7 separate regions of the Homo sapiens genome follow, and all the other regions are linked to region 1. Evidence: promoter capture Hi-C in 16 types of primary human blood cells and fetal thymus (Javierre and others, 2016). All regions are on one chromosome and are shown on one strand. The core of a region is centred on a gene start or on the middle of the fragment in contact, and the rest is flanking DNA. Distances in the headings are between cores, read along the strand shown.

Region 1 (3,823 bases), core at 238-2,737:
GTGATCTTGCCACTACACTTCAGCCTGGGTGACAAAGGGAGACTCTGTCTGTCTTTCTCTCTCTCACACACACACACACACACACACACACACACACACACACGAAACGTAAAAAAGAAAAATCTATAGTAATCAACTATTCTCATCTAAATGTTGCATATGGTTAACGTAGAAAAATAAATGACAAGTCAATCAGTAACACTGTGCATAGAAACCACCGTTAAGCACTTCATTCACCTGTTACAGAGATGCCAAATTAGCTCTTCAGTTTAGCTTATTTTAGAGTGCTAGTTATATTTGAACTTGATACCTATCCTCCAAAAAAACCAAAATATTTCCGAACATTAACTCACAGTCTTTCATGTCATCTCTGAACAGGAAAGGGGACATTTGCTGCCTTTTGCTTCAGAAAAATCAACCACCATACTGAATCATGTAATGGAAATACTTATATCTTGTTCTGAGGTTGCTGCTCAGATCTTGAGTGAAATATAATCACATGGTAAGGGGACCTGGGCCCTAAACACTTCATCCTGTCTACAGCTAAAGAATAGTACAGTATATGAGAATCCATCAGGATCATCACTTCTTACATGTGTTCGTATTGTCAGCACAGAATACGTAGCAAGTGTTCTACAGACGTCGAAAGAACTAGCAAACCCACTGTTGTTTGTGGCGCTCTCACTTCCTGTACTATTTTATTACTCAAGATAAGCCTAAAAGAACAGACAAAACTATCACGAAAACGATTTCTTAACAGAACTATTTTAAAACAAGAGAATCCTCAATTAAAATCATGCCATTTTCTTTCTCTGAAATCTTTAAATTACAGATGTGCTCATCTTTGTTGCCTGGATATGAGTTCTTTCAGCTGGGCAGCGGGAGACTCAAAGTAGTGACTTTTAAGGGATCCTACCAGAGGTGGGGGAGCCAATATAAATTACGTATCCTAATCTGAGACACTCTTCTGTCCTAATACCTGAAGCTTATAGCTTGTCAGGTGGCTTTTCCATGGAAAAACGAGGACATAAGAGAGAGGGCGGACCTTAAGAGTTCTACGGAGGAGCCGGTAACGGCAGCAGGCTTGTCAATCAACTGCAAGGTTGCAGCCCAAAAGAAAAAGAACTCACTTGATCGCTCATCATCGACTCCTCAGAGGCCCTCTAGGACTACCGAGAATCTCTTGCCCTTTGGCTCTTGCCCCCGACATCTCTCCTGGCCCCCCGCCCTGCCCCAGGAGGTCTGGTCCTCTCACCCGCTGCCAAATTCTCACACAGCCTCAAAGGGATCCTCAGGGCGTAAAGCAGCCCCAGCCCCGCCACGAACCACAACGAGGCCCCAGTCCCCGCCAGCCCGGCCCGCAGTCGCTCCCTCCAGCCTAGCGTCGGGTTTAGGCCAGGGACAGATGCAGGAGACGCTCCAACAGCTGCGGCTTCACCCACGCCGCCACGGTCCGCCATCTTGCCGCTATCGCAGGCGCCAGGAGCTGGGAGGGGAGAAGGACAGGAAACCGGGAGTCGGGAATCCTGGGATAGTGGCGGACCTGAAGTTGGCCTCTGTGAAGGCTGAGTCCTGGGGAACCGGGACCGAGAAGATTTCGAAGGTGGAGGAGCGTGTCTCAAGATTGGGGCTACCTGTTCTTTCGTGGGGCAGGGAAGGGGCGGACAGCAGCGCCTATTCTGGAGGAACTGGACTGAGATGTGACCCCGAAGTGTTACCGCTTCCAAACGAAATGAGGGTCACCTTTCACACCGCCCCCCCCCCGGGGTTGGAAAAGCCACCGATCGTTCCAGCTGCCGAGCAGCTCTTAAAGCTTTGGATTCGGCTGTCGTGGAGATAACGGGCACCAGAAAAACTTGTAGGAGTAGCAACAGCTATTTGGTCGGATGGAGGCCAGAAGCCAAGAATAATCGAAACACGCTGCCAGCGCCCATTAGATGGATGGGAAATGAGTGTAACTCATTGGGAAAGATATTAGACTTCAAATCACCTAAGGCAAACCCTACTTCCTGGGGCGCGGGCGCGGGCGCTGGCGTTAGGAGACGTCACTCCCGCGCATAACTGACATGGGGCCCTCTTGGTCGGCGTTTCCGGGCGGGTCCTTCCGACGGCCGCCGCGGTGATTCCATCACTCGGCTTTCTTCCCGGCCTGCCTCGCGCCCGTAGCCGGGCTGGGCCAGAACAGCCCAAGATGGCCGACTTCGATGATCGTGTGTCGGATGAGGAGAAGGTAAGGGGTCCGCCTCTCTCTCTTACCTCCTCCCCCGACAGGGAACTGGGGCCCGGCCCGGCTGCGTTGGGAGCCTAGCAGTGTCCCCAGGAAAAAGAAGCTTCTTGGTCCATGCTGACATACGCTCTCCGCAGTCGGGACGCTTCCCTCTTAGGGGGCTTTCCTCTGCCTCACGGTGGCCCCAGTTCCTCGTTCCTCGACTCTCCTTTTCTCTCAGGCCTGAGGCACAGCCCAGGGGCCTCCCTGCAAGGGAACAGACGTTTCCTTTATTGGATCGTGACTGTGGACTTTTTTCTGTAATTTTGCGAGAGGGTGGTGGTTATGTTGCGACATATCAAAAAGCAGTTATTTTACCGCCTTTAGCAGTTGGGGCTCACCCCATCCCCCCATTTGTAGATATAATTGGGGTTAGTTTAGGGCGAGTCACTTCCTGGTCAGGATGGCCTCTTAACTTCCCTTTTGCTCCTCCTTCCTCAGGAAGTGATTTTGCTGTCACGACTCTTCGACAAGGAGAGGTCCCAAATGTTGTCCATCTCCCTACACATGCACTACTTTTCTCCTGTACTGTCGCCTGTCTGATTCGCTATAATAAATCTGTGAGCCTCAGGGCATTTGCTTCAGAATTTGAACACCAGTCTTTCCCTATAGACACATCCCTTTTAACGATAATTTTTGAAAATTTTGTTTCTTGTTAACAAATCTAGAATAGCTGATGGATTTTCTTAACCTCCAGAAAGGTTTTCTGTAACACATAATAAACCTTATGTTAACACGTTCAAGACTGAACAAAGCATCCTGCCTTCTTTGATGCTCCACTGTGGAGTCTTTGATCAGTTGAATTTGTCAGTGTGCATTTTGTATGCTCATTTCTTGAAAAGGGTCTTAAATACAAGAGCACATTCTAAGGTGGAATAACTTTTCTTCTGACAGTTGCACAGTTTCATAACAGTTTGTCAGGCTTTTCAGTAAGTACATGGTTTTAGGGCACGTAGAACTTAGAATGACCTCACAAGGCAACTTATTGGACAAGAATTATGACATTTGTCTCCCACTGTGGCTATTAGAAAATGTGTCCCCTTGAGTGCTCTGTAAATCTACCTGGGTGTTTTTTTCAATAAGAAGTTGGGATGGGAAGGGGACTGTTATGATCCATAAGTCCTCTGTACGGAATAACTTGATATATGTAGATATGGCATGCCATTTTGAAATGTTTAACAAGCCATTGACAACAGCGTTAGATTTTCTCTTATTTGGAAACTGATCTTCATACATGTTTAAGATTTAGGACAAAAACATTTATGTATAAGCCTATGCTGGAAATCGATCTATAATAAATTGTTCTAAGGCAAATAGTTACTATTCAAATAAAATTAAGCAAAAATCCTGTTACAATACAACTAAACAATTTTTTTTTTTTTTTGAGACGGAGTCTCGCTCGGCTCACTGCAACTTCCGCCTCCCTGGTTCAAATTATTCTCCTGCCTCAGCTTCCCGAGTAGCTGGGATTACAGGCACCCGCCACCAAGTCCAGCTAATTTTTGTATTTCTTGTAGAGAGTGGGTTTCGTCTTGTTGCCCAGGCCGGTCTCAAACT
Region 2 (3,897 bases), core at 1,398-3,897, 1.7 Mb after region 1:
CTAGCTGAGACAACTGAATGAATGGAGACAAATGTCACCAACTGAGTTGAGGGATGTAAGAGGGATGAAGAAGAAGCATATTCGGTTAGATGACGACTCTAGTTTTGATATGGGGAGCTTGAGCAGCCTGTCGGGTATCCAAGTGGAAATGACTGGAAATCTATTAGAAAAGAGGGAGAGGGATGTAATGAACTTGGTTTGGTTTTGTTCGGTTTCTGCTCTGCATCTTATGAACCTACTTTATATGCCAGAGGCTCTCCCATTGTATGGATTTGGTCGGAGACATCACACCCACTAATTCTCCAAAAGTCCAAAAGGCCAGATACTTACTCTCCATGACATCTGAGGTCATGAGTCACATGACCCAAGTATTGCCAATCAGCTAATTCTGCTCAATGCTTTGTTCATTAGTGAAACAAAAAAGCAGGGGATAGCTGAAATTTCATTCAAATGACGCCAGTGGTAACATCCAGCGTCCTGTGTTGGTCCAAGCAGGAGTATCTGCATCCTGTGGGGGTGGCCATAGTATACCCCACCCCATCCTACCCTGGCTCCTGCTCATTTTCTAAACCTGGTTCTCCAGCCCCACTGCAGTCTCTGTGAGCTATCCAATATCCTCCCTAAATCATTTCCTTTTCTGATTAAGTCATCCAAAGTGGGTTACTGTTGTTTGCACTGAAGAACCCCAACTAGTAAAGAAATTTACAACAAGACAGAGCCACAAGGAAATGGAGAGTTTGCCGGAAGATTGGTTATAAGTCTAGTCAGAATACTAAAATCCAGTTGATATTCAGGGAATCTGGCAGTCAGTGGCTCACAGTGGTAAATTGCTCAAATTAAATGCTCACTTATAGTCACCTGGAATGAAGAATTCATTAAGGCAAAACTTTGAAGACCATATCGCTACTTGCATAGAATGAAATGAAGAGCTTGAGTCATACAGACTGTTGTAAATGTAGCTTTTCCCAAGAGAACAAGAGAGTTAAAAAAAAAAAAAAAAGAAGACAAGCTTAAATCTCTAAATGTCCAACTCAAAGACTTTCCAGTAATGTGCTAAAATGATATCTTATTTACAGTCTTTTAAGGCTAGCATAGCTGAAAGCCAAGCACAGAAGTGCATTGCCAAATTTCAACATCTGCTGAGGTGACATACTGAAGCAGCTACATGGTCCAGGGTATATACCCTGGGGTTCGTCATCTCGCGCCGGGAAAATTTAGGACAGGGAGACACACGAGGAGTTTAGGAGCAGAGATTTAATAGAGAGAAGAGAAGAGAAATAGAAACAGCTCTCTCTCTAGAGAGGGGTCTCCCAACAGAAAATGACCAGCTGGTGGAGGAGGCACTGGGTTTTATAGTCCAGCTTGAGGAGATGTCGCCTGATTTACGTAGGGCTCACAGATTGGTTGGATCAGGTATGATGTTTACACAGCCCCGGGGAAGGCTGGCTACCCTGCCCTAATCTTATTATGTAAATGAACTCTCCTGCTGACCCGTGCCACCTTGTCTCCTTTTTACTGTACACGTGGCTGATAAAGAGAAGGGAAGATGGGGCCACCATTTTGAACATGATTGGCACAACTGCCGGTATCTATCAGCTCAATTTTACAGGCTGCTCTTTGTTAGAAGGGAAAATGATTTGGGGCTGCTTTTCATTAAAAGGAAAATCTTACTGAGGACTTCCCTACCCTCACTATCTGCCTAAGTAATTTCTTAACTTCTATATCAAAACTCCCTAGGTATGTTATATAAAGGATAGGGCATTGTTCAGAAAGGACTGTGGCCCCTACATGGGGCACGATGGCTCACGCCTATAATCCTACACTTTGGGAAGTCAAGGCAGGAGGATCACTTGAGCTCAGGAGTTTAAGACTAGCCTGGACAATATACTGAGACCTCATCTCTACAAAAAAAATTAACTGAGCATGGTGTTGCATACCTGTAGTCTCAGCTATTCAGAAAGCTGAAGTGGGAAGATCACTTAGCCTGGGAGGTTGAGGCTGCAGTGAGCCAAGACTGCACCACTGCACTCCATCCTGGACGACAGAGAAAAACCATGTCCCCGCCCCAAAAAAAGACAGCGACCCCCAAAATTGTAATAAGGACATTTGGGAAGATCTCGGAGACTCATAGAACACCAAACATGGAACCCTCCGGGTCTCTCTTGCCAGCTAAAAGGCATGTCCCTCCCTTGTCTGATGAGGCTGCTCCTGCGTAGTTTGAAGATGCTCTAACTCTGTGCACAGACTTCCTCACAGAAAGAAGCCAGCTCTGCTCATGCCTCTTTCCTCCACGCCGTCACTCATGGCTCATAAGTCTGTAAATAGAGTCAGACTCTCGCATGACCTGGAAGCAGGAAGTGGAGCTTTTGATTACTTAAAAAGTTAAATCCCCACCAAAAGACTCAGATAAGCAGATTCTAAGGTGGAGATTAGCAAGCAAGACCTTTATCAGGAAGTGAGCTTGAGACCACCCCTGTGGAGCAGAAGGGACAGAAGCAGCCTTGGGCAAGGAAGCAGTTGTGCTGTGCGCACAATTAGCATAGCTCTGGAGCTAGATGGTCATTTAGAGCTCTTCTGAGTTGGAACCAAGGAGCCAGCCTTTGTTAACCCAACTTTGACCAGTCGTTGGATGTGGCTGCTTCATGATGGGGACATGACCTTGGGCTAGGGACATTTCTTCACTCAAGGCATCCCCAGAGTGAGCTGCTGGCTGAGGGCCCACTCCCAGCAGCTGGGAGAGTAAGTCCTTCATTTCTGAGAGGGGATACAGTGGTGCACCACAGTGTCCAGCACCGTGCATTATTTTAAATCAGCCTGAAATTAATCAGGAGTATGCTCACCAGAAATCAGGAGACAGTGTGCTATCTCCAGCCATTGCAAGTGGCCCTAATTGCTGCCTGTCAGTTGTTTTGAAATGTGGGCTCAACAGTGGCTCATGTGAAATGAAATTCCATGAAACAATGGAAGAAATAATCCAAAAATTTCGGAATATAGAAGTGCTGGAGAGGATTTATCATGTGTCACCTACCCATTCATCTGCTAATTCTCTCTCAAGAGGGCCCAGAAGAGGGCCCAGATTGGTGAGGGAGCACCTCTATCTCTGAGAAGCAGTCTTGTGACTGATTTCCGTAAACTAAAGATGCAATTGTAAGCAGTTGAAATGGGATCCCTGATTTTAATGGAAAAGGAAAGATACCAGAATAGCAGAAGCTGATTTCAGGCACTTAACTACAAAAGACAAGATAATCATGGTAGTTATAATAGACAAGAGGGCTGGAATGGTAATAAAAATGATCCAACCTGACTTGATGGGGGCTAACTGATGAAGTCTGGGGTAGAAATTGAAGTTCTCCATCAATATCCACTCTCTTGTTCTCTCTAACCCAGCCTCCTTTCAGCTGATATGGTTATATAACCAGCTCTGGCCAATGAAGTGAAAGAAGAAAGGTGGGCTATCTTCATCCATTGTGCTGCTATAACAAAATACCTGAGACCGGGTAACTTGTGAAGAACAGGAATTTATTTATCACAGTTCTGGAGGCTGGGAAGTTCAAGATCAAGGCACCAGTAGGTTTGCTGTCAGTGAGGGCTGCTCTCTGCTTCCAAGATGGTGCCTTGTTGCAGCATCCTCCAGAGGTGAAAAATGCTATGTCCTCACATGACAGAAGGGCAAAAAAGGGCCAGACTCTCTGTGAAGGCTCTTTTATGAAGGCTTTATTCCTATTCACAAGGGAGAAGCCCTCATGATCTAAGCATCTCCCAAAAGGCCCCACCTCTTAATACTGCCACTATGAGGATTAAGTTTCAATATGTAAATGTTGGAGGGGACACCATCACTCAAACCACAGCATGGGTCATCTCCAGGACATGCCCTTAAAGGAGGTGGGGAGGATACCA
Region 3 (3,672 bases), core at 1,146-3,645, 1.3 Mb after region 1:
ATAGGAGTCAATCAGCAAAGGTTCCCGAAAGGGTGAATTCTGAGAGATATTTGAAAAGAGGAAAGGGACATAACTTGAGAGAGCAGGAGTTTAGGAACATGTCAGAGAGTTAGGTTGAACCAAGGCATGATAAACATGTTTGAAGCTTACATTCTGAGCAGGATCTGTTCTACCCAGACCACAGGTTTCTGCCTTTTTTTCTGGCTCATCAAGCAGGCATGTTTACCCACTCTTTTTATCTTCATGTTTCCCAGGTCAGCCCAATGTGAGGACTTTAAGTAGTAGAAGGAAGTTTCTGTGAAAATATGCAAACAAAACTGCCTTGTGGGATCGAACATTTTTGGTAACCCTAGTTCTCTAGGGAAATAAACTTCCCTGTTCCAGATAAAATGGAACTGCTCCCCGTGTTGTTAAGCCAGAGAGAAAGCCAAATGACTTCCCTTAAAAGGTACTTCAGCGCATTTTACACAAATCATAGTTTTCTGTGTGTGTTATGGGGATCCAAGGAAATCAAAGATGTTAATGAGTGAGATTTGAGAAACAAAACTTGATAGTAGAATTTTGTCTTAGCCACAACTGCCCTTCTCCTCACAGAGTATATGCAAATACCGATGGTGACGGACAGTCACTTTCTAGAGCTCAGATCACTGCTGCCTCCAGCACTTGTGGGATGGAAAAAATGAAGAAATTACAGTTGCCCTAAAAATGTCCCCCACTTCAGGAACCTGAATATTTTACACAGCAGGAGATACATCGGAAGTCCTACAGAATCTCTTGACTTTGGGAGATGCAACTGCTTTTCTATTAGGATAACCTAATTTTCTGTGTCCATTTTCTCAGAATGTTGTGCCCAACGCGTTCTGTTTCCTAAATACCCAGCCTTCCTTCTGGTAGAGGCAAGAAAATTATGCTAGCATTCGCTCACTGCATGTTTTGAGCGTTTGAGTTCAGAGTACAGCTATTCTCTCTCCTCGTAATGTAAACACAGGTTCCCACGGCGGCAATGGGAGACTCCCCTAAGGGGCTCTTGACGTACAGGGAGACTTCCAGATATGGTACACAGATGTCACATTGCTAGAACGTCTCTAGACGGCAACGAAACATTAAAGCCTAACCTGAGGTAATCCCTCACCGGCAGTGAAGCTCCTCTGCTAGGCACTGTCGTCCCGTACACTGCCCAAGCTCTGGGGGTGTCACACTAAACTGTGGTGATGTCACACTAGCTGGGATGACATTTTACAGTTGGATCCCGTACCACCGCCAGGCACCTTTAAATCACCGCAGAGTCTGCAGTGCGGAGGGGGCGGGAAGTCCAGGCCCCGCACTCGATCCACGCTGGCTCCCTACGGAGGCCCACCTACTCGAGGCCCACCGACTCCTACTGCAATCAGTACTATGCGATCGTCCTAGAGAGTCCATTCAGCTGCACTTCCGCCTCAGTAGGTGTCATGGCGCGGGGCGGGTGAATAGTTCCGGCGAGGCGGGGCCGGCCGGGTTGAGGGACGGCCGCTCGGCATTCCGTTCGTCGGGTCTGGCGACAACGGCGGCTGCGGAGCAAGGGGCCCGGCGGTAGCCCCGGACGGCAGCAGGAGGCCGAGGCGGGAGCGCGCGGGGCTGAGGCGGCGGCGGCGGCGGCGGGAAGGGGCTGGGTGGTGGAGCGGGAGGGAGGCTGAGGAGGCTCCCCCTGCGGGACGGGCGCGGGGACGGCTCCGGGGGGCGGGGGCCGGGGCCCGGGCCGGCTCGCGCGGGGGGTATGATGACCCGGCTGCGGGGCCCCAGATCTCGTCTCCTCCGCCGCCTCCTCACGGCAGCCCCAGCTCGCGGCTGAGAACCAGACACACCGGCGGTGAGTGGGGACGGGCAGGAGGGGTCCTCGGCGGGGAGCGACTTCCCCTCAGCTCCCTGAGGCGGGGCCGGGCCGGCCGCCGGCTCTCCTGGAGCGCCCAGCCTGCCGGGGGCGCCTTCCTCAAAGGGCCCCTGCCTGGGACCGGGCGCCGCGTCTTGCGGCCCGGCCGCTCACTGCCGCTGAGGGGATTGCCTTCCCAGGAAGGTGGGGAGGCTCCGGGCTGGTTTTCGGGGCAACTCCCCCTGCCTCCTGCCACTTCTCGCCTGGGCGTGTTGTCCTTAAGTGACAGGGGACCGCCTTGCGTCTCCTCACTCGGCCGGTTTTTTCCCCGGCTGTCGTGGCAGGTTCCCAGTGTGTGGCTTGTGCGTGTGTACTTCACAGCTCCGCTTATCACCATGGTTTTGGGTTATTTGTGCTGTTTGGGACCAGGAAGCCGTGCCTGGAGAGGACGACAGTGGGGTGGGTGTGGAAGCTTTTCTGTCGTCTCCGCTGATGTTCTGTAGTCGTTAGGCTTGTAATTCGTAATGACGGTGGAGACTACGTGAGACCAGCCCACCTAATGTATATCTGTACAAGGGAGATCTAGAGGTCTGGCCCAAAGGGAAACTTTTGCTGCCACCACTTTCAAAGCTTTCGTTAAAAAAACAAAAGGGAGGGGGAAGGTGGAGAAACAACCAAAATTCTGGTAAGGCCCACACTGTTCACAGGTCTGTGGGGAAGAGTCCCCTTTTTGTGCTTAGCAACCAAGACGTGGAGTTCCGTCTCCAGGAGCGTTGGTCTAACCTCCAGTTTGTTGTGGTGACGAGCTGTGAGCAATGGCCTGTGTTTATGCTGGGCGAGCTTTCTTTCCTACTTGGGGAGGGGGGTTCAGGATGGGAGGATGCGGGTAGGGAAGAGGGGGGGAAAACCCCCAAGCTCCAGTAAGTCTTTTCTTTACTTAATCACTGATTCTGTTGTAGGTAGACTCATTTAGAGGCAGTCCTAGATGCTCTTTCTTGTCTATTAGTGACACTTTGGGAATTCTCAGTAATTGCATCAACATAATACTTTCAGCTATAGACTCTCTGTCCCAATCTGTCCTTTATCTTGTTTCTTAGTAACTGGTGAAAACAGCAGTGTGGCTTCCCGCTCTTGATGAAATAGGGTTAAATTAAGTGGCTGATGCCCTCAGCAAACCTACAATTTTCCTTTTGTTTGTGTAAAGCTATTTTTGATCTCTGGTCTGTGGGTTTTTTTTTTTTTTTTGTAAGATTATAGAGAATGCAAACTATTACTAGCTTTTTTCATATGGAAGCCTAAAGCTTTCTATAAAACATTTTAAAATCTAACAAATCATTTGACCTAATTTTCATTATTCAGCTGGTGATTTTGGATCTTTACATGTAATTATCTCAGGGTTCTGTGTTATAATACTGTTATGATGAAGGGTGGCATTGACTTTAAGATACTGTTCCTGGCTTGAAAGATATTTTAGTAAAGTACTTGCGGTTGGAACTGGAGGCAGCCAAGCCAGTAAAGTATCTTAGAATAAAATGGTGAATGAGATCTTATAAATATACTGGCTCTGGTTGGCAAGTAGAACTTTTGCTGGTGATACCTTCATGAATAGTTTATCTCTCGACACTGTAGTTTTGTGGTTTTTTGAGCAAGTTCGTTGGTAACTTGAGACTTCAAACCAAACCAGAACTTCCTTCTAAAAGAAAAAAAAAGAAGAGATAATCTCAAAGTTCACAATTCTTTGGAAAATAAACTTCTTTCATTCTGTGCTTTTGTTTTTATAAGCACAGCTCCATCAATGATTTGTTGGTACAAATCAGTGAGTCATA
Region 4 (3,686 bases), core at 32-2,531, 1.3 Mb after region 1:
CAGTGTAATTCTTTGGCATGTGACTATTCAGTTCTTCAAACACCATTTGCTAAGAAGATTGTCCTTTCTGCATTGGGTGGTTTGGGCACCCTTGTTGGAATCATTTGAACATATATACAAATAATTCTTATCTTCTATTGCTTTCCCATTTTCAATGTTGGGCTCTCTATTCCATTAATCTATATATGTCTTTATGCCAGTACCACATTGTTTTGATTATTGTAGCTTTGTAGTAAGTTTGAAATCAGGAAGTGTGAGACCTCCAACTTTGTTCTTTTTCAAGATTGTTTTGGCTATTTGGGGTCTTTGAGGGTCCATATAAATTTTAGGATGGGTTTTTCTATTTTATACAAAAACCATAATTGCTTTTTATTAAGGATAGCGATGAATCTGTAGATGACTTTGGGTAGTATTGACAGCTTAATAGTAAGTCAGTCCATCCTTATTTCTTTATATCTTTTCACAGTTTTATAAAACTGGTATTTTTTACTTGAGGTAAGGTAAATAAACTCTTAGAGCCTTTGTTTTCTGGTTTTATGCTGCCCTAGGCAACCTTGGCTAACTTTAAGAATGTCATCTCCATTTATTTATTTATGCCTTGGGAGATTTAGGTTCCAACTACATTTGCTTTTTAATGCTCTCCTTTGAGCAGTCTCACCACCAGCCACACCAACATAACATATATATAACATACTCTACAGGTGCACTGAAGAATTCAGCGCAGCATCCCATTTTGAGTCCTCAGGAGGGACTAGGCAGACCACAGCTGAAGGAAGAGGGCTGATCAGCTCTTCCTTTCTGTCTTGACTCTGTGCCTGCAGGTGTTCTTTAACTATTTGTTTGCCCTGTCAAAGACAAAGTGCATTCTCTTGTGATAACAGAGTAGTTTTTAAATTGAAAAAGGGAGAGCAATAGGAGATAAAAATTATTTGGCTTTGTTATAATTGGGGCATGTTAATACAAAATAAAATGAATTATTTGGCTGCTTAGCTTTCTGTAATGTGTAATTCATTTGAATAATTTTCAGTGTTAGGTTGCTGATCTTTGTATTTTTTATCCTTTTAATTTAAGCTGTCAATTGATTCATTTTGGTTTTGTTTTTTATAGAAACTAAGGTTTTCAAATCTTCAAAGTTACCCTTCGACAAAGCTTTCTTTAAATTCACTGCAATATAGTTGTTGACTATAATTTTAAGTGGAGCTAAGTTTGCCTCTTAAAAACAGGAGTTCATTCTGTGTATTACTGAGTAATTACTCTGTATACTGAAGTTCAGTGCCCAGGGCTTGACAGTGTTTAGGATTTAACATGAGTGTTCTGTTGTGTCACAGTAATACTTGATAATGAGCCTAAGGCAGATGGAACAGCAGCTCAGGCATTCCTTCTTTATCACTAGTTTTACCCGCAGTGGTCCTCTTAAGCTTCTTTGATGTTGCTTTGTTGCCATATTAGAGTCCATTAAGTCCTCACCCTTCTGTCTTTCAAAAAACCTCTGTGAAATCTGTTTGGCTGGTGAAGCATTTTGACTCCAAAGCTAGTCCTTCTCTTACCCACCTTTTTAGTTTACCTTGCTTTGTCTTTCTGATAATATGCCAGTATTATCAGCTCACATAAATTTGCCAACTTGCTGTGTCCATTGGCCCTGGGCATGGCTAAATGATTCAGGCAGTGGAAATAATATACTTTACTCTCTGGCTCACTGTAAATGTGCACAGACTCCAAGCAAAGCTCCTGTCTTTCGGGCTTGAGTTTTAGAGACAAAGGTTTGCCATGCTTACAGGCTGAATGTTTTTCCCTACTGAACAAACTAGCCAGCCTTTATTTCAAGCTGAATCACTTTGTTACTTACGGAAGGAAAAGGTCTAGAGAAGGAAAACGTATCTTCCATTTATCCTAGACAAACAAATAATCTAATTTCCTCTGGCAGTCAAAATATAGTTTCACCTAAGCCACTGATGCAGGAAGTTAGGTTTTATGTAACCTCTCTAATTGGTAAGTAAGTAGGTTTGATGTCTCTGAGATAGGAAGAAAGAAACGAAAATGTTCATGAAAATAATCAGAGTGATTTGTGTTAAGTGATCCTAACCTTAGCTTGCTCTGGGTGCCAGTGAAATTAACCTCAACAATGTTGGTTGGAAGAATTTTTCAACTTAAAGAAGTTTGAAGTTGGGGAATCAAAAGGCAGGGATTGTTGTTTCTATCACTTAGCTGTAATAACCAGAGCCTGTTTAGTATTTGTTTTTTAAGGATGGGATGTGTCTTCAAAGAGGAGACTTGCCATGTTCAAAGCACAATTAATGCCATTTTCCTACTGAAGTGAACACTGCCAGTTTTTAACAGTTTCTTTCACTTTCCTGTGCTTCTGTAGATAACCTTTTTTACTGCCCAGTTGTTGGAATGTTACAGCTGGAAAGGGACCTAGAAGAGTAATTATCTAACTCTGTTTCCTTATTACACAAATGAGGTAGAACCAGAGTTTTACGTGTCTGTAGAGTTTATATTGAGGGATTAAGAAATAAGGAGGCCAAGAGGAAAGATGTAATGAAAATAATTCTAATAATTATAATCTGGATTCACAGTTTAAAGTATTCAGTCCTTAGAGATAAACCTGCTCTAGTGATGCCTTACTGTTCAGTAAAGTAGAAAATAACTTGTCTTTTTGCTTCGTAGAGTTTGGGTAAGTCTAACATTTATAGGCCCAAATAATACAAAACCCTCAGTGAACTAAGCAGCCTTACTGCTTTTTTGTTTGTTTTTGAGACAGGGTCTCAGGCTGGAGTGCAGTGGCGCAATCATGGCTCACTGCAGCCTTGACCTCCTGGGCTCAAGTGATCCTTCCACCTCAGCTTCCTGAGTAGCTAGAACTGCAGGCATGCACCACCATACCTGGCTAATTTTTTAAATTTTTTTGGTAGAGATTGGGTCTTGCTGTGTTGCCTAGGCTGGTCTCAAACTCCTGCTCAAGTGATCCTCCTGCCTTGGCTTCCCAAAGTGCTGGGATTATAGGTGTGAACCGCCGTTTCTGGCCGTATTTTTTTTTTTTTTAAACTGCTTTCCTTTTTTTGTTTTTCCTTTTGCTATTTGCCTTTTTATAAGGTAGATACGGTAGAGTTGCTGTTTTGACTGAGCTTTTGCTGGAAGTCCTTAGCTGCTTTTGTCACTCCAAAAGCAGGGTGAGACCAAATGAAAAAACTTTCAGCTAATCTTCAGTTTTTTTTTTTAATTAAATGGGACTTGGGGGCTGTGGAAGTGATATTTTCCTTAATTTCCCAGAAAACTTTAAGCTCGAGACAGTTATCATATATTATTGCTACCTTTTTTATTTTTTTCTGAGACGGAGTTTCGCTCTTACGCCCAGTCTGGAGTGAATTGACGTAATCTTGGCTCACTGCAACCTCTGCCCCCCGGGTTCAAGCGATTCTCCTGCCTCAGCCTCTGGAGTAGTTGGGATTACAGGCGCCTGCCACCATGCCCAGCTAATTTTTGTATTTTTAGTAGAGACTGGGTTTCATCATGTTGGCCAGGCTGGACTTGAACTCCTGACCTCAGGCCATCCACGTGCCTTGGCCACCCACAGTGCTAGGATTATAGGCGTGAGCCACCGCGCCTGGCCTGTTATCGCTACCTTTTAAAGAAGAAAGTTATAGAGTGGCCTGGCCATTCTCTGTGACCTACCTTTTGGACTTTAA
Region 5 (3,523 bases), core at 737-3,236, 1.2 Mb after region 1:
TCGAGCTACCTTTTTTTGCATGTGGGCCAATTCAGGGAAAATAAACCTGAATCATAAATTTTTTCATTCAGATTTAAGTACTTTTTTGAGTAACATGCACTTAAATTGATATTGCCTTAAAAAAGTAAGTGCTGATTTTTGGGTTTTTTTTTCCAAGACAGAGTCTTGTACTGTCGCCCAGGCTAGAGTGCAGTGGCATGATCACGGCTCACTGCAGCCTCAACCTCCTGGGCTCAAGTGATCCTCCCACCTCAGCCTCCTGAGTAGCTGGGACTACAGGCACATGCCACCATGCCTGGCTAGTTCTAAAAAAAAAACATTTTTTTGTAGAGACAGAGTCTCACTGTGTTGCTTAGGCTGGTCTCAAACTTCTGGCCCCAAGTAATCCTCCCTCCTCAGCCTCCCAAAGTGCTGGAATTACAGGCATGAAAATGCTGCTTTTTAAGTAGGAAAAATGTTCAAATCTAGGCATATTTGAGAGGAAGCAACATGGAGGCAGCTCTCTAATATTTTATCCTCATATTAGATTATGTAGACTGTTGTTAAGCTAGGTAGGCCTAGAGTACTCAAGTTGTATCACTGATTTAGAGTAAAGAAGGAAGCAGAGAACATTTATGTTCCAGGTAAAGTTGGGAGCTTTTTTCTTTTTCTTTTTTCCTTTTTTTTTTTTAAATGAGATGGTCTTGCTATGTTGCCCAGACTGGTCTTCAACTCCTGGGCTCAAGGGACCCTCCCACCTCAACCTCCCAAAGTGCTGGGATTATAGGCATGAACCACCTGGCTTGCTTTTTTCATAGTTTTTACAATATTCTGTGTGAATGTTTTAGCTAAATGATTTCATATAAATCATAACTTATTTTTTAAATTATAACTTTTTTTTTTGAGATGGAGTCTCGCTCTGTTGCCGGGATGGAGTGCAGTGGCGCAATCTCAGCTCACTGCAACCTCCGACTCCCTGGTTCAAGCGATTCTCCTGCCTCTGCCTCCTGAGTAGCTGGGATTAGAGGCATGTACCACCATGCCCAGCTAATTTTTGTATTTTTAGTAGAGACAGGGTTTCACCATGTTGGCCAAGATGGTCTCGATCTCTTGACCTCATGATCCGCCCGCCTCAGCCTCCAAAAGTGCTGGGATTACAGATGTGAGCCACCCCTCCCAGCCTAAATTATAACTTTTTAAACCTCAGAGTTAATGAAATCCAAACAAAATTTTATGGCAAAAAAGACAGATCCAGAAATTTTAGTTAAACATTTTGTGAAGATGACACAGGGACTCTTAACTTAGGCGTGGCAGAGATTGCTCCCCATCCACCAATATCTTCTTTGCTTCTTCCTCAAATAGAATTGTGTGTAGGCAATTTTGTCTGTCTGCCCAGCAATATTACATTTCCCAGTCTCTTTTGCAATTTAGTTATAGCACATGTCTAAGTTCTCTTCAAGGGAATATGAGCTGATATGATCTGGCCATTTCCAGGCCAGTGCCTTTGAAGACCAGAAGAGTAAGAAGAGGAGGCCACACCTCCACTTTTTCCTCTTTTCTTGCCACCTACAGTCTGCATGTGGCGGCAACCTAATTTTGATTGTGTAAGTAAGGACAATACCATTAAGTGGCAGTTCTCAAAGTGTGATTCAGGGACTCCTGGAGGCCTCACACTCTTTCAAGGGGATTGGTTAATAATAATTTTTAGTAGTAATAGCCTACCACTAATTGCTATTCTTACAAAAAATTATACCTGATACTACTTTAAATAGTACATAAATATGTATCACATAGGACAATAGAATGCTTAGAAGAATATAAAATTATTGTTTTAAGTTTATAGCTTATACTTAGGAGCAATTGGGTAAGCAAACCTTAAAACCGTCAGAATTGTGCTTCATTTCCTACTATTGAATTAGTTATATAAGATTAAATAGTGGCAACTGCTGTTCTTTTTATCATACTTCTATGTTTTTTATAAATTTGCTTTAGATATGAACCAGAATATCACAGCATCTCAATTTCTCCATTTGGATAGTCATATTTATTTACTACATGCCAACACAATAATTTGGTTACCTAGCTTTATTTTCCACATATACTAGATAATTTAGTTCTGTGTGAGATGTTAAGAGGTAGTTAAGGTTAAAAATAAAAAGATAAATTGCATGGAAAAGAATATAAACATAAGGACCTATACATGCAACCTAAAATCATATTTAAAGTTGAATCAGTTATACTGTAAATGAGTAATTTAGGTAATTTTTTTAACTCTTCAGTAAAATAACACACATACCAAAATTCAGAAATGAGCTGGAGTTATTTGACTGAACAGATTCTGCAGGCTTGTTTGGTGGGCAAGAATTACAGATACCTAGAATCAAAAGAAAAAAATATAAGGGAAAGACTAAAGACAGACTCAGATGACTGTTGATCAGATCACATATAATTGTTAAGAGTAATTAATAATCCCAAATAAACATATCACTGTCAAATGTTAACAAAATGTAGGTGCTTACAAATGGGTTGACACTATAATATTCTCATTTGTATTTTTGGTTTTTTTCTTAAAAGGTTTCTTTTCTTTGCAAACAGATTGTATAGTAAAGCCCAACACTAAAGAAAATTGCTAAGGAAATAAGATCCAATATATCATGAATCAGCATTTTTTTGTTTTTTTTTTTGAAATTCACATTTTGGCTTTGGACTTCATATTACTTTTTCCTCTGGCCACTCTTAGTACATTTTTACATCATTTCTTCTCCACAATAATTCATCCATGACAAGTCTTTTATTTGTATTATATAATCCTCTACCCTGGAATCTCTTTTTTTATTCCACTTTCCAGCCTGATTTTTTTCTAATTATAAGTGATTCTAATTTAGGCCCATAACCGGGCACGGTGACTCACGCCTGTAATCCCAGTACTTTGGGAGGCTGAGGCAGGCAGATAACTTGAGGCCAGGAGTACGAGACCAGCCTGTCCAACATGGTGAAACCCCGTCTCTACTAAAAATACAAAAAAAAATTAGCGAGGCATGGTGTTGCAAATCTCTAATCCCAGCTACTTGGGAGGCTGAGGCACAAAAATTGATCCAACCTGGGAGGCAGAGGGATGAGGTGAGCCCAGATTGCGCCACTGCACTCCATCCAGACTGGGTGACAGAGCAAGACCCTGTCTCAAAAAAACATAATAATTATTATTATTTAGGCCAATAATCTCCCAAAAGCATTGTTATGCTGCTTTGTTTTGCTATTTTAGTTACTTATAGGTATAAGTTAACTTATAAGTTACTCATAGGTCATATATGTACATTGATATATTCATGTATCAGTTTCTGCAGTTTTGAAAACAGTCCCTTAAAAACTTTGTCCACATTTTGCACATTCTCTGTCTTGGCAATGGAAAAAGATAATTTCAGGTTTGTATAAACTTTCTAACAAATTGCATATAAATGGGAAGATATTAAGTGTTTTTGTGTTGTTTTCAACATTTTCAGAATGCACTGTGTGAACTGCATATGCATATTAGGTATGCATATTT
Region 6 (3,949 bases), core at 1,292-3,791, 1.9 Mb after region 1:
ATTGCCATCCACCAAACAAAAAATGTGGAATTCTACGTTTGTCTCCCTCACACCAATCTCAATACACTCCCCCCATCCCTCCATTCCCATAGCCACTATTAGTTACTACTATTAATATACTAGCTACCATTTCATTAGTAACTACCACGTACTAATCACTTTACACATTTTATCTTACTTCATTCTCTCAATAACCCTATGAGGTTATATACTTTTTTCCCATTTCACAAATGAGAAAACTGAAGCTAAGAAAAGGTCATCTGCCCAAGTCGTAAGTAGGAGATGGCAAAGTAGATTTCCAAACCCTACCGTTCCCCCAAACCAAAATGCTTCATTCTGTAATACCTGATATATCATTCCTTTACTACCCATTCCAAATGTTGATTTCTTTCCTAGATAACCGCCAGGATTCTCCTAACTGGTCTCCTTGTCTCCAGCCTTGCCTTCCCTCATCCCTCAAGTGCCCTAAGTGATCTTTCTGGATCAGAAATCTGATCCTTTTATCCTCTTGATATGAAAGCCCTCCAGGAACATCCTTCAGTCCACAATGTCGAGGATACACTCTACAGGATGAATTCCAAGCCCTTTAGTGCAGCTCCACAATCGCTTACCTACAGTCCCGAAATTCAAAAGCTTTGAAATTTTAATTTTTTTCATTGGTTTGCAACAGAACCCACTGTGAATGCTGGGAGGTTATTTATCGTCTATCCCATTAGCGTGACATTCACGTGTTTCAATGTAGAAACATTAACGTGTTTGATAGAGTTAACTCAGACCCTGATAAAAGTCTCACATAACAGACCTTGCCAGAAAAAAGAAAAATCCCAAAATATTCTGAAGTCCTTACACCTGGATCCCAAGAGTTTAAGAGACTGTGAAACCTTTATCTTTTCAGCCCATCAATCCAATCTAATTTCCACCAATCACCCTACACAGTCTTTAGTTCCAGGGATGTAGAAGGGTGTCCTGTGCCCTGAATACCCTCCAACCCAGTGAGGTACTCATTCTTCAAGAAACCTGTTCATGGATTTCCTTTCCTGTGAAATTTCCCTGACCTTTCCTCTATTGTGCCACAACCATTGTACTGAGGACTCACCTCCACTGCTGCAAGTTATATGTTTCTCCTGTTAGACTGTGAATGAAGTCTTCATTGAGTACTTTATTCAATCCTAGCACAGTGCCCCAACACTAGGGGCTCATTAACGGCCAATTAGCTAAAACAAATTCATGCCCAGCTTTCCCTAACTCTCAATTTCCTTCAAAGTTCATTTCTCCTTCATCCCCAAACCTTAGGATTTTCCCTAACCATGCAGTCCACTTTCCGAGTTTCTCTTTCCCCATGTCATCTTACAATTTTCTTCCAGGCGCCTTCTCTGGACCCCTTGCTCTCCAACATATTCTCTCCACCTCCATTTAATCCATAGTCCTCCTCTCTCCTATCTGTGAACACGCCAAGTCCCCTCCCTCCAAAGCAATCCATCTTCACTGCCCTTACCTCTTACCTACTCCCTCAACACCTCGCTGGCCCGGGCCCTTTCAGCCAAAACGCTTCCTCACAACGTGTTTCCCAAATCCCCCTTCTCTCACTGTACGGGTCTGCCAGCTCCAGAACCAGCGCTCGGCCGGGTTCCGCACATCACAAACCCTCCCTCGGAGCCAGTGTCCCCTCCCCCAGCCTCTCGCAGCCGGCACCCCTCCCTTCATGCTCCCCTTATCTCTTGCGGTCCAGCTTCTCTGGAAAGTGTCCCAGGGGCGAGTCTTTCACCTTAGAGACCCCTCGGGATGGCGCCCGTCCGAGCAGCCCCAGGCCCCAGCACCTCCGTCCCCAGCTCCTCTAGGGTTGCGCAAATCCCTTGCGGCCCAGATGCCAGGCAGGGCCTCCGGCTCACCTTGCTGGATGTCGCCGTTGCTGCCCCCCGGGATGGGCACGCTGAGCTGGCGCTCCGGCTCGGGCAGGCAGCGCAGGCAGAAGGAGTGAAGACAGGGCAGCAGCTTGGGCTCCGCCTCACGCCGGCTCTGCAAGCTCTGCTGACACACGGCGCAGGTGTCCAGGAGCGAGGCTGGCGGTCCAGGAGGCGGCCCTGCCGAGGGACCCGGAGCGGGAGCCGAGGCTGGAGCTGGAGCCGGCGTCGATACTGCGCCCCCGGCAACTCCAGTGCCCACTGAGGCCGCAGGAGATGAAGCAGCCTGGGCCGAGCCCGAGGAGGCCGCGGCCACCCCCCCGTCGTCGGGCCCGGCCGCGCCGCCCTCAGCGCCGGCCCTGCCGCCTTCCTCCTCCTCCTCCTCCACCAGCACCGCGGTGAGAGGCGGCTCCGCCTCCTGCGCGGCGGGCCCGGCGGCCCCGGCAGTTACCGGCGCGCTGCCGCTGCCCCCGCCGCCGCTCTCAGCCTCGCCGCCGCCTTTGTTTTCCGCCATGTTTTCCTCTTTGAACCCGCCGGACCGCCCCGCGCCGCCCGCCGCCCGCGTCGCCGCCGCCGCCGCCCCCAGCCCCAGCCGCAGCCGCAGCAAGAGCGGCAGCCGAGAGCTAGCGAGAGAGCGAACCAACGAGAGCGCGCGCGCACGCGGCGCCCCCGCCCTCGCGTCGCGCGTTTGAAGGAGGGCGGTTGCGGCACGCGCACGTACGCACGGACGTCCTCCCGAGGGAGGCGGGAACTCGGTTCGCGGGCGCGGAGCGGTCCCGGACCCTCGAAGCCAGTTCCTTGCGTCAGTGCCGCGGCTCTTTAACCCGAAGGGAGATTTTTTTTTTAAAGCCAGAGGCCGTTGACGCTGGGTAGCCTTTGGCTGGGGTTGGTTATGAACTCCGACACAGCGGTGGTGCATACGGAAGGGTGGTAGCCGGGACGGTTCCGGTCCCTGCGAGCGTGTCCCGGGCGTCTCCGCGGAAGTTTCACCTGCCGCGCCGCTCGATCGCCGGGACCTCCTGGGTCTCTGCTGTGCGTAGACCAGCCGCGTTCCTTTGGGTGGCCGTGGAGCACTAAAGCGGGGCTTATTGTTTGTTTGGTTTTGGTTTTTTTTTTTGTTTTTTTTTTGCTTTTTGTTTTTGAACTGAGGATCTATCAGAAATAGGCTGAAAAGACCGAGTGAGGAAGAAACTCTTTAACAGCTATTTTTGGCATCTTAAGGTGATTCTCAGGAGTTGCTACGTATCAGAATCAACGGAGGAGTTTTTCAAAGCAGAGATGCCAGGGCCAGTCCCCAGACCTGAATCAGGAAGTGAGGGAGAGAGCCGACGGAGGGGGAAAAGTCCCTTCAGCTGATTCTTATGTATGTCAGTTTGGAGAGCCACGGATATAACCAATACTGCGTCCTTCTGAGGTCCCACTTTAAGTGTCCTGGGTTGAGCTGGGTGACAAATGCCCTTACAACAATGGTAGTAGAAGCTTTCAGGCCAAGCGCAGTGGCTCACGCCTGTAATCCCAGCACTTTGGGAGGCCGAGGCGGGCAGATCACTTGAGGTCAGGTCAGGAGTTCGTGGGCAGCCTGGCCAATATGGTGAAACCCCGTCTCTACTAAAAATATAAAAATTAGCCGGGTGTAATGGCGTGCGCCTGTAATCCGAGCTACTCAGGAGGCTGAGGCAGGAGAATGGCTTGAACCCGGCAGGAGGCGGAGGCTGCAGTGAGCCGAGATAGCGCCACTACACTCCAGCCTGGGCGACAGAGCGAAACTCCGTCTCAAAAAAAAAAGAAAAGCTTTCAGAAAGTTGCCTTTTTATTTGAAAAAAAAAAAAAGGTATTTGGAGGATTTTATGTAGTGCAACAACTGTTTTAGTGTTAAGATCATGAAATGCTTTGGTCTCCTGTTAGTGTTCCCAAGAAAGGTGCTGTAAGTCCTTAAACCACGTGAAAACTTTTTTTTTTTTTGAGACCTCCTCGTTCTGTCGCCCTGGCTGGAGTGCAGTGGCGTCATCACATTTCATTGCAGCCTCGACTTCCCAGGCTCAAGCCGT
Region 7 (3,658 bases), core at 608-3,107, 2.0 Mb after region 1:
ACCCAGCCTTTGTCTGCCAAGAGCCTGGAAATGTTGACCTCCGTTATTAAGCCTGGTCAGTCTAAGACTAATTCTTATTACCGAAGTACCATTAGGTAAATGTGCTAGCTATAGATTTAAGTGACATAAAAGATCTTAAAGAATTCTCCAAGGGATCTGTGGGGGGTTTATGTATTTATTCATTAAAAGATCTGTAAACAACATTTTATACAAATCTTGATTCTTTTACAAAAATATCCAGAATTCCTAACACTTTACAGAAAACACAACAGACCTAAGGAAATGAAGCAGCTTCAGGCTGCGAGGATGAAGACACCATTGCTGAAGCAAAGGTCTCCTCCTAGAGGGATAGCCAGGATCCATCACAGTAAACCCTTTTACCCCCATTTTATAAACATCCAATTATTAACTGTTCCTGCTGGGTTGGAGTGTAAGAAGAGACCAAATGGAGAGATGTCTAGTAGAAGCCCCACTGGGGGTAACCTGCTTAACATTAAAAAAAAGACAGGCTCAGTTCTATTCCCTGGACCCACATCTGTAGGAATTATATTATACAGCACCAGTCTTAAATGGTGTTCTGCTTCAGATTCATGCATACCTGAATGGGTTGTAATGACAATACTGTACAAGTCAATAAACTGTATCACAATACAACTTACACAGTTTTGTAAGGTTGAATAAATACTTTCTGTGCCAGTTAAAACCATCAGCAGAAACTGAAGAAAACAAACTGACATTTGCTATAACATTAATCAATGAAAAGTGCACCATCTGAACTTGAATTTGCCCATGAGTTTGAAAACACACACACACACACACACACACACACACAGGCCGGGTGCAGTGACTCATGCCTGTAATCCCAGCACTTTGGGAGGCCAAGGTGGGTGGATCACCTGAGGTCAGGAGTTCGAGACCAGCCTGGCCAACATGGTGAAACCCCCGTCTCCACTAAAAGTACAAAATTAGCCAGGTGTGGTGGCGGGTGCCTATAATTCCAGCTACTCAGGAGGCTGAGGCAGGAGAATTGCTTGAAGCCGGGAGGCGGAGGTTGCAGTGAGCCGAGATCACACCATTGCACTCCAGCCTGGGCAAAAAGAGCGAAACTCCATCTCAAAAAAAAAAAAAAAAAACCGAAACAAAACACACACACACACACATACACACACAAAAAAAACACTGCACCATCACTGAAAACTTTCTCTTTCCAATCACTACTACTACTACTTTAGATATTAAAGGTCTGGATGACTAAGTGGTATATGTTCAAGGAATGTTCATATTTTGAGTCTAATTTAATTAGAGCAAAAATTTCAACATTTCTAGGGGAATAAAAAGAGTCTCATCTAGGCACCTATAAAGTTCCTTATCCTCAGAGCTGAAAAGTGGCTCTGGTACACTTAATAGAAAATTTTTATTAATAAAAGAAATAGCTATATAATCCTACTGAGATGAAATTTCCATCTGTAGGACTAACCAACTTTTTCTGTGTCCATAAAAGTCTTGGCTTCAGTTCTGTGTTGTACAACTTTGGGCAACGTATTTAACTTCTTTGAATTTGTTTTTTTCTTTTTTCTTTTCCTTTTTTCTTTTTTTTGAGATGGAGTCTCGCTCTGTCACCCTGGCTGGAATGCAGTGGCGCGATCTCGGCTCACTGCAACCTCTGCCTCCTGGGCTCAAGCGATTCTCATGGCTCAGCCTCCCGAGCAGCCAGGATTACAGGCACCTGCCACCACACCCAGCTAATTTTTTGTGTGTATTTTTAGTAGAGACAGAGTTTCACCATGTTGCCAGGCTGGTCTCGAACTCCTGACCTCAAATGATCCACTCGCCTTGGACTCCCATAGTGCTGGGATTACAGACGTGAGCCATAGCACCCAGCCTCAGTTTATTAGTAAAATGGAGATGCAAATATCTATCTCATAAGGTTGATTTAAGGATTGGTTGAGATGATATGCATACATATACCACAGTGCATGGCACATGGTGGACACTAAAAAATAAAGGTGGCTCCCATGCCCTTGAAAGGACATTTTCATATTAGCTATAATTTCACAAAGTTTAAATTTATTTACTTATTTTTAAAATGTTTTTGTAGAGATGGGATCTTGCTATGTTGCCCAGGCTAGTCTCAAACTCCCACCCTCAAACTCCTGCCTTAGCCTCCCAAAGTGGTGGAGATTACAGGTGTGAGCCACTGCATCCAGCCTCCACAAAGTTTAATGTTGACATGTGAGGCACAAGCAAACTACTCAAATGCCACATAATTTGGAGGAGGAGTTGCAAGATGTCTAATTTTATAAGGTACTTAATAACAGTACCTTATAATATTACAAGTAGGGCTTCCTCCTAAGTGAGATTCCCCTAGATATAATATAAGGCAAAACAATGGAGATATGTGATGAGTCTATTCCTTAGCCCAGGTCAAACAGCCCATGGGTTTAAAGGGGCCATGATAGTTCAGTGATGAGAATTATGTGTATAAGGCTAGTGTTCTCCATTTCCATCATGTCTCTCTACTACCTTAAACTCAGCATTTCTCTCATTATTCTCATCTTTGAGCTATTTTTTAAATGTAACAACAACAAGGCTTTTCCTTGTGAAACACAACTACTTTCACAGACAAAGCACAAAACAGAGAATGAGCCCAAGAATCACATAGAAAAGGCTGCTATAAAAAAAAAATGGAGACAGAGTAAAGATGGCATGGTGCCAGACCATTCCCAACAATTCTCCAGTGATTACTACAGCAGCAACAGGAGAATCCTCCTCTAACAGCCTGACTCGCTCTTTAACCTTTTAAAATTTCAAGAATTTTGTAGAATACTTCATGGGATCCTGACCCTTAGAAAAATATTTTCTTTGGCACTTTCTGTTGTATATTCAGGATGGAGACAATCAGAGATTTCATTTCTTTTGCAGAAATTTCATTTTGCTTCCTAAAGGGAAAGAAAAGTACAGTGAATGCTCAATTCATTTTTATTTATTGTACATTATTTGAGGTAAGGGATTAACAGGTCAGTCATTCAGAACAGCCCAAGAGTTAAGCTGACATCTCAAACTCAGTTGATGTGTTTAACCCCCAAAACAAAAACAAAAATGAACCCCAAACCCCATATGTCTAGTTAATTGTAGCGGCAGAAAAGAACTCAGACATCATGTAATCCAGTGGTTTTCAACCTTGACTATAGGTTAAAATCACCTGGCTTCTCCCCAGAGATTTCCTGGAGCCCAGGGGAAAATTTTTTTTAAGTTCTCTGGAAATTATAAAATGTAGTCAGAGCTGGGAACCACTGATCTAATCTAACCCCATTGTATAAAGATGAAATAACAGCCTAAGGCCTAATTTGTCCATGGTCTGTCAGCTAGTGAAGGACAGGGCCTAATTAGGGGGCATATATTTCAAAGACAAAATATAAATATCGTAGCATATAGGTTATTCATTATTTTAGGCTAGCCACACCCCTGTTCTCTTGTATCATACTAATTAACTATTACTGAAAAATCATAAATGTGTTTCTGTATGAAGTAGAAAATTAGAGACTTGTAAGAAATCCTCTTTTGCCTCAGAAGTCCCTCTAAACCAAGTGTTTTTAATCTGGAGTACCAAAGATAGACTTCATGGGGTATATGAGCAGCCTAAAATTATGTGCAAAAT

Evidence for each region. Contacts are between HindIII fragments. The CHiCAGO score rates a contact against its expected background, and 5 or more counts as called.
Region 2: a fragment that was not itself captured here is called in contact with the fragment with the promoter of ST7L in region 1 in 2 of 17 cell types (total CD8 T cells and naive CD8 T cells); the score reaches 8.4 in total CD8 T cells.
Region 3: a fragment that was not itself captured here is called in contact with the fragment with the promoter of ST7L in region 1 in 7 of 17 cell types (fetal thymus, naive CD8 T cells, total CD8 T cells and 4 more); the score reaches 14.9 in fetal thymus.
Region 4: a fragment that was not itself captured here is called in contact with the fragment with the promoter of ST7L in region 1 in 1 of 17 cell types (fetal thymus); the score reaches 5.5 in fetal thymus.
Region 5: a fragment that was not itself captured here is called in contact with the fragment with the promoter of ST7L in region 1 in 1 of 17 cell types (naive CD8 T cells); the score reaches 6.0 in naive CD8 T cells.
Region 6: the fragment with the promoter of TRIM33 here is called in contact with the fragment with the promoter of ST7L in region 1 in 7 of 17 cell types (naive CD4 T cells, fetal thymus, total CD8 T cells and 4 more); the score reaches 10.3 in naive CD4 T cells.
Region 7: a contact is called between a fragment that was not itself captured here and the fragment with the promoter of ST7L in region 1, in 1 of 17 cell types (non-activated CD4 T cells). The highest score is 5.8, in non-activated CD4 T cells.

Annotation. Positions count from the first base shown.
Region 1 is chr1:112,617,654-112,621,476 of GRCh38, forward strand. ST7L (suppression of tumorigenicity 7 like) reads right to left here and starts at 1,488. Exons shown (of 15, transcript NM_017744.5): 1 at 1,256-1,488. The coding sequence starts at 1,460. CAPZA1 (capping actin protein of muscle Z-line subunit alpha 1) reads left to right here and starts at 2,179. Exons shown (of 10, transcript NM_006135.3): 1 at 2,179-2,230. The coding sequence starts at 2,192. RefSeq lists enhancers at 1,452-1,551, 1,660-2,859, 2,012-2,461. The HindIII fragment of the contact is 828 bases long and covers 984-1,811 here.
Region 2 is chr1:114,337,265-114,341,161 of GRCh38, forward strand. No RefSeq gene overlaps it. Among named protein-coding and RNA genes, the nearest start is that of TRIM33, 170 kb to the right of the region's middle. The HindIII fragment of the contact is 3,280 bases long and covers 1,008-3,897 here.
Region 3 is chr1:113,928,094-113,931,765 of GRCh38, forward strand. It overlaps HIPK1 (homeodomain interacting protein kinase 1), which reads left to right and starts at 1,231. Exons shown (of 16, transcript NM_198268.3): 1 at 1,231-1,439. HIPK1-AS1 (HIPK1 antisense RNA 1) reads right to left here and starts at 1,432. Exons shown (of 3, transcript NR_110726.1): 1 at 1,269-1,432; 2 at 151-295. RefSeq lists an enhancer at 1,142-1,461 and silencers at 1,582-1,631, 1,652-1,961. The HindIII fragment of the contact is 158 bases long and covers 2,317-2,474 here.
Region 4 is chr1:113,945,528-113,949,213 of GRCh38, forward strand. All of the region lies in intron 2 of HIPK1 (homeodomain interacting protein kinase 1), which reads left to right. Among named protein-coding and RNA genes, the nearest start is that of HIPK1-AS1, 18 kb to the left of the region's middle. The HindIII fragment of the contact is 269 bases long and covers 1,148-1,416 here.
Region 5 is chr1:113,817,302-113,820,824 of GRCh38, forward strand. PTPN22 (protein tyrosine phosphatase non-receptor type 22) reads right to left here. Exons shown (of 21, transcript NM_015967.8): 20 at 2,276-2,353. All of the region lies in intron 3 of AP4B1-AS1 (AP4B1 antisense RNA 1), which reads left to right. Among named protein-coding and RNA genes, the nearest start is that of AP4B1-AS1, 6.5 kb to the left of the region's middle. The HindIII fragment of the contact is 8,296 bases long and covers 1-3,523 here.
Region 6 is chr1:114,508,662-114,512,610 of GRCh38, forward strand. TRIM33 (tripartite motif containing 33) reads right to left here and starts at 2,542. Exons shown (of 20, transcript NM_015906.4): 1 at 1,890-2,542. The coding sequence starts at 2,415. LOC124904348 (a long non-coding RNA gene) reads left to right here and starts at 2,677. Exons shown (of 2, transcript XR_007066452.1): 1 at 2,677-3,264. RefSeq lists silencers at 2,079-2,378, 2,409-2,518 and enhancers at 2,709-2,878, 3,739-3,949. The HindIII fragment of the contact is 2,747 bases long and covers 632-3,378 here.
Region 7 is chr1:114,582,693-114,586,350 of GRCh38, forward strand. It overlaps DENND2C (DENN domain containing 2C), which reads right to left. Exons shown (of 21, transcript NM_001256404.2): 21 at 158-2,939. The coding sequence ends at 2,908. All of the region lies in intron 2 of LOC105378914 (a long non-coding RNA gene), which reads left to right. Among named protein-coding and RNA genes, the nearest start is that of BCAS2, 2.9 kb to the left of the region's middle. The HindIII fragment of the contact is 4,180 bases long and covers 1-3,658 here.